Linked DNA regions of Homo sapiens: region 2 is linked to region 1. Evidence: promoter capture Hi-C in human tissues and cell types (Jung and others, 2019). All regions are on one chromosome and are shown on one strand. Each heading gives the region's core, a stretch centred on a gene start or on the middle of the fragment in contact. The rest is flanking DNA. Distances are from core to core; before and after follow the strand shown. Region 1 holds the start of CADM2 (cell adhesion molecule 2). Region 2 overlaps CADM2 (cell adhesion molecule 2).

The links. The method cuts DNA at HindIII sites, captures the fragments that hold promoters and counts their contacts. A contact is called where the count stands out against the background at its distance.
Region 2: a contact is called between a fragment that was not itself captured here and the fragment with the promoter of CADM2 in region 1, in 1 of the 25 tissues and cell types used here (dorsolateral prefrontal cortex).

The regions. Positions count from the first base shown.
Region 1 is chr3:84,957,120-84,960,477 of GRCh38, reverse strand. CADM2 (cell adhesion molecule 2) reads right to left here and starts at 1,489. Exons shown (of 10, transcript NM_001167675.2): 1 at 810-1,489. The coding sequence starts at 870. The HindIII fragment of the contact is 15,126 bases long and covers 1-3,358 here.
Region 2 is chr3:84,992,904-84,996,124 of GRCh38, reverse strand. The region is part of intron 1 of CADM2 (cell adhesion molecule 2); the gene reads right to left. Among named protein-coding and RNA genes, the nearest start is that of CADM2, 36 kb to the right of the region's middle. The HindIII fragment of the contact is 3,667 bases long and covers 61-3,221 here.

The DNA of each region.
Region 1 (3,358 bases), core at 240-2,739:
ACACAGACTGAATAATAAAAAGTCAATGTGTTGATAAAGTGGGTTTGGGTCTTTTAATTTTTTTGCCTTTTCTCCCCTTTCTTAAATTCTTGGTTTATTTATTCATTCATTCACTCATTTTTTCTTTTTTCTTATTCTTTTTCCTTTCTTTTTCTTTTCTTTTCTTTTTTTTTAAATCCCAGACAGAGTCCCCTCTCTCTTCCTAGGTAAATGACACGTCTCAGAACACATTTCCCCCCCGGGGATGTTATTGCAATGCACACGGTGCTGTCGCTGCTGCTGTTCTCGCCCGTCTTGGTAGCTCGCTCCCAGGCTCTCACACACTTTTTAAAGACACACGGATATGATGATGGTGGGAAGAGGGGGAAAAGAAAAGGCGACCTGAAAAGGGGGAGGTTAAAGAGATGACAAGAGATGGAGAGGGTCGCTCAAGAGCGTGATGTGGGAGGTGGCTGGTGGGGGTTGTCGGGAGGGTGGAATGTTCAGAGAGGCACAAGTTGCCAGCCAAAAGGCGTGGGAGGGGGATGCTGGCGGGAATGGAGTGAGATGAAGGAAGCTCAGGTGAATGAGAAGGCAAAAGGTGCCGCGTAAGGGGCTGACTGCTGGGAAGGCAGGGCTGAGCCAGTGTTAGAAATTCGAGGGGCTGGTGCAAACTGCCACTGCCCCCTGCCGCACCAGAGAGTAGGGGGAGGGGGTGGAAATCGCTGGGGACAGGGAGACTGGGAGGGGAGAGTGGAAATATGGGGTGGAATGGGGAAGATGGGGAATGGGCGAGAAGTTGATGTTCCCTGCGCCGGGGCGGGGATTACCTTGTAGCAGGAGCCCGCAGACACTGTAGAAGCGGAGAACGGCGCTGCGTTTCCAAATCATGGTCCCTTCTCTAAAGGGCTGGGGAAGGAACGAGGGGGCAAGTAGATGCTGGTGAGCGGGGCACGAGAGTGCAGGGCTCCGCTGGTGTCCTCCTCCCGGCGCCCGCCGGACCCACCGTCCCCACCGCTGCGGTGTTCGAACCCGCGGACTCGGATCGGCGGCAGCAGAAGCGGCAGCGGCAAAGCACCCGCAGAATGGGGTATCGCGAAATAGTTTCTTCTCCTCCTCCTCCTGCTGGTGGTGCAGCCGCGACAGCCCGTCTTCCAGGCAGGGGTTTGGAGCTTGCCTTCCTCTCGGCGCGCACAGCAAGTCCCAGAGCCCGCCGGGGCTGCCCGAGCAGGTGGTGCAGGGATGCCGGGGTGTTGGAGAAGGTGCGGGCGAGGGCTGCAAGGAGTGGGTAGGTCACGGAGGGGAAGGGCTGGGGGAGAGGAGGAGCAAGCAAGCAGCACTGCCGCTCGCGCCCGGGGTGTCTCGGGGTCCTGGGAGGGGAGGTAGAAGCAGTGGAAGCAGCGCTAGTGGCGGTAGCAGCGGCAGCGGCGGCGGCAGTGGCGGCTCCCGGATGCTCCGGCTGCAGCGGCGGCTGTGGCGGCAGCGGCAGCGGCGACGGCGGCAGCTCTACGAAGCACCAGACACAAGGGCAAGCTCAGAGCGGCGGAGGCCCCGCCCCCACCCCGGCCAGGGACAGACACCGCCCCCCGGCCAATGGAAACTCCCCCGCCCACCAGGTCTGGCCAATGAGAGAAGGGGATGGGTGGAGACAAGCGCCGGGAAAAACAAACAGGCTTCTCAAGGACCCTTCGGGCAGGAAGAACTGAAGCCCCCATTCAGCACCCCTGGCGGATCTTACCTCTTTAGAGATGTCTCGCCCGAACTTGCAGGCGAGACAACTGCCTTCATTAATCAGCGCTTTGCACTCAGGAAGGGTTCAGCCAATCGCCACCGCGAGGGGGCGGGGTTAGCCGTGTCCCCAGCATGTTCTGGAATTCGTGGTGCCTGGGCCAGGTCCTGGGTGCGAGGTTCTTCTGCGCATTTGGACTCCTAGAGCAGATGGTGGCTGCACCTGCCCACTCACCAGCTGCAGTAGCAATCTCTGACGATTCCAGCAGCAAAAGGGAAAGATTGCAGAGGGCGTGGGAGAGGCTAAGTATAGGGAGTGGAACACCTACCTGCCTACAAGAACTTGTGCAAAAAAGGAAAAACAAGTGGAGGAAATAATTTTGTTGTTGTTGTTGTTCAGAGGTTTTACTTAGTCTAGGTATAAATCTCAGTAGAGCTTGGTGAGTAGCAGTGCTGGCACTGGCATCAGGCAGCCTTTGGTTCAAATAGCATAGCTGTCGCTTCATGTTTTATAATATTTGATGATTTACTTGAACGTTTAAGTCTAAAGCCTCCTCAACTGCAAAACCAGGATAATAGTACTTAAAGAGTTGTAAGGATTAAGTGAGAAAGCAATCATGTTAGCGTAAGTCCATGCAATGCGTACATACTTTAAAAATGGTGACTCTAGCTGTTTATTGGGATTTTTCTAATTCTGGATAGCAGGAAATCTTAGGCAAGCCTCTTTAAAATGTTTTAACAATAGCCTTACGAGGGGAGAGAGGCAGAAGTGCACTTTTTTAATGGACCTAACCAAAAGGAGTCACAGAAACTCAGGAAGCTGGAAAGAGCCACCTCTATAAATCAACACCCTGAAATGTGTCCTTTAGAAGAGGAGACATAAATGAGCAAGACATAAATGAATCAGAAGTTGTGTTTCTAAATGAGCTTAATTCCCAGGTTTTCCCTATGACCAGTTTTTAATTGGACCAAATTGGCAGATGATGGACTGGTTCAGTAGTGTTAAATCAGTCACACCATAAATAAAGTCGGCTTTGTTTGAGAGACTACACAATAGAAACCTGCAAGCAAGAAGACAGAGGGAAAGATGAGAGGCAAGATCAATATTGATGCCCTTCACTCTTTCCCATTTGTTGCTTACTTTGCCACAACCTTTTGCAAATTCAACCCTTGCCTTTTAACTAATGACCCATTCATTTCTCTGCCCACCTTTCTCCCCAGGTTCTCAAAATTAAGGAACAAAATGTCCATAATAAAACTGCAAGCACATTCTTGAAGAAAGATGTGTGAATACCTGTGTTATTGTAGGAGATAGTTGCCTACTGTGAGTTTTAGCTGTTAGGAAAGTCAGTCAGTGAGTCCACAGATACTGCTATCATTTAACCTATTGTGAGGATCAAAAGGTGAAATTCTAATCATTATTGACTCACGCTTAGGTTTTGTGTCAGGGAGAATATAACAAATGGAAATGCCAAAGAAGTTAGGATTTGTTTATTGAAATGGTAGTCGGAGTTTCTGGGTTCTAATGCACATGCTGCTTCTAGCTGTATGACCTTGGGCATATATTCAACTTCCTTGACCCTCAGTGGCCTCAACTATAATATGAAGGAGCTGGACTTAATTACTTATAAAGCTACATTGAGCAATAGAA
Region 2 (3,221 bases), core at 645-3,144, 35 kb before region 1:
CCTGGACTCATGAACTAAACAATCCCAGCAGCAAACAGGGTTGGGAGAGTAAAATTGCCAGATTTTGCTTGAAAGATCTTGTACATTTGTCTGTCCAAATTTCTCATAATTAACTGAGAAAATAAGTTATAGTCTCTCCTGTCACTGAAGTTTTATCAGTTTGCTGGATTCCCCATTTGTGAACCAATAGGCATGGAAAACTCATCACTTAGTACAAGGACAAATACAAAAATATCAGAAATCCCATCAGGCATTTCAGCCATCTTTGACCAACCACTACAGAAGAAGTAAATTTCAACAACAAGCTAAAAAGCCAGTTGTGGAAACAACAAGCTAAAAAGCCAGTTGTGGAAACAATAAGCTAGAGGAATGATCAAATACTGTTAGCAATCATGGAAATAAATAGAATAATATTAATCTCTTTTGTAGGCAAGTAATCTCTTTTGTAGGCAAGTACTTAGTAATCTCTTTTGTAGGCAAGTACTTAGGCACTACATATAATCTCCAGAAATTGTCTGAAGTATGTATTATTCTCTCCTCTTTTAGATGAAAAAGCTGAGTCTTGGAAATACTAAGCAACTTCTCTAAATTTACACATCGCTAGGATTCCAACCCAACTGTTATCAAATCCAAATTAAAGCTTCTTTCCGTTATAGTGTGGTTGCGAAATGAGTTATGCAAATCTTCATTAGGGAAAATTCTCTCTTAATGCACACATTTTAAAATTGTATTAATCCCAGAAATTATTAAATTTGGCAAGAATAACATAAGCTCAATATTGGTGGACTGAGTTAGTTGCAAACGAGGTTTGCTTTCCATTTCTGCTTTATCAGGTTAACAAATGTACCTGCCATCCTCCATTAGAATCAGTTTTGAATTATATTAGCATGAAATTATGGCAGGTCCGCTATAACATAACACTGTTTTGGAATGTGACTAACCCTTATACCATGCTGCCTCAAATGTTTTAGCAAAAATTAGTTTTTGGGAGTTATTTGCACTCTTCATTTAGAAAGATTTTATAAAAATAATGAGGAAATAAATGTTTGAATGGATGAACACTTACATATTCTTTTATTTATTTATTTATTTTTTGAGACAGAGTCTCACACTGTCGCCCAGGCTGGAGTGCAACGGTTCAATTTCGGCTGACTGAAACCTCCGCTGCCTTCCGGGTTCACATGATTCTCCTGCCTCAGCCTCCCAAGTAGCTGGGTTACAGGTGCACACCACCACGCCCGGCTTATTTTTTGTATTTTTAGTAGAGACACGGTTTCACTGTGTTTGCCAGGCTGCTCTCGAACTCCTGACATCGTGATCTGGCCACCTGGGCCTCCTAAAGTGCTGGGATTATAGGCATGAGGCACCACGCCCAGCCGAACACTTGTATATTCTAAAATTGTTTAAAAATTTTATGTATATCCAAAAATATAATAAACTTTTTAAAGCAGTTTATTAAGTCATACTCTACACATTTTCTTGTTATAGTAATGTTAAGGTAAGAAAACAGGAAATGACAGTAATGTAAATTATGACTCAACTAAGCCAAAAAAGCAATAAAGAAGACAAAGAAACACTCTAAATTTTGTGTCTATAATTTTGAGGAAATTTTACCTACCTTCCTACTTACCTAAGGACACAGAAATAGTGACTGAAATTAAGCTAAGTGTGTATCTTAATGATCACATATAAATCATGCTGTCTGTATGATTTGCAAATATTGAGGTTTGCTATAAATATAGCCTAAGTGTATTTATTCAAAATATCAGTAAAAACCATAGCTAATTAAACTACTCTTATCGTAACACATACAATATTGACACTTGAAGTAAAAGGGAACTTCAAAAATTGGTGAAAATATATTTATTAGGATGTATTTATAACGATCTTGGCAGGCACTCTTCAAACTTAGAGAGTCAGAAGTGGAAAAGCGATGCCTGTGCCAAATTCCTTCAAAAATGTTACACACTCTAATATAGTGTACATGACAAGCCTGAAGTATTGAAAAGAAGCCATTTGAATTATCTGAGCACAAAAAAAAGGCATCTGGAAATTACCTAACAACTGAAACATCCTATTCACATTTTCTGGAATCTCATAATGCTGAAAGGATGTTCGGCAGGTCCTGAGCTTACACTAATTTGCAAGCTTTTGAACAAGTATAACAATTTCAAAAAATAGGTACTATTTTGGGGGTGTATCACTAATGAAATAGAATTTTAACAGAAGAAAAAGAATTTTAACCTTAATTTTGTTACTGTTGTGTTTCAATTCCTATTACAACATTAGTATTTATTGTCACGCTGAGATCCATTTAGAGACAATAGTAGGAAAAAAGGTCATAGTGCATTCTCTGTTCTGCACCCTAAGGCTACTGAGCATGGAATGAGCGAAACAAAGCATGCTAACTCCTTTTAGAACATGTCTATGAAGAAATACAACAGTTCATATCAGTCAGTGTGTTTCTGCTAATGGCTTTCAAATTTTAACTCTAGGAAGCTATAGTCAGGGTGTTTTCCGTGGAAAAAACAAACCCTTTTGACTTTCTGCTAATCCTTTCCTGATGGTGCACCACTTACCACCAGAGTGTTGCTCAAGATTTACTCTTTAAAGTTGACGATTACAGGGTCAACTAGGACCAGAAGTAACTTGATTTTAACTGTTACTACCACTTCCTCTCCCACAGTATGTACTATCTCTTTTCCCTCAGTGTTCCTTTTTCCTTGTCAAGAAACTACTCCATATGGTAACAGAGAGAGTATTGCTTTAGTCATTAAGGTAGTTTCACTAGCAATGGGCATCAAAATATTCCAGTTAATACGCTAAATCCCTTTTGTCACTGTAATGGGCTATAGTAGCTATGCACACTCCTATCCTCCTTTTGCTAACACACTTCTTTTCGTTTTAGGAATTGCCTCCTTAACTCTCTGGGTTCCCACTTGGGCCCGATAAACAAGCCCACCCCCAAGAATAGTGGTAAAATATTAAATCAGCCTGGGTAATGAAAGGACTCCTTAGTTCTATGTTCTAGTACATATTTTTTTTTCTTAAAATAGTTTGTTTTAGGTATCTGCCACTTGTAAGTGAGTAGTAAGAGAATTAAAATTATTGGAGTCACTGAGATTATTAAACCATACATCCTGGGTTGACAACCTTCAACATCCAATCTAAACATGGGAATCAACTTAAATTACAGGGACATGAAATCTACTACTTGAAAA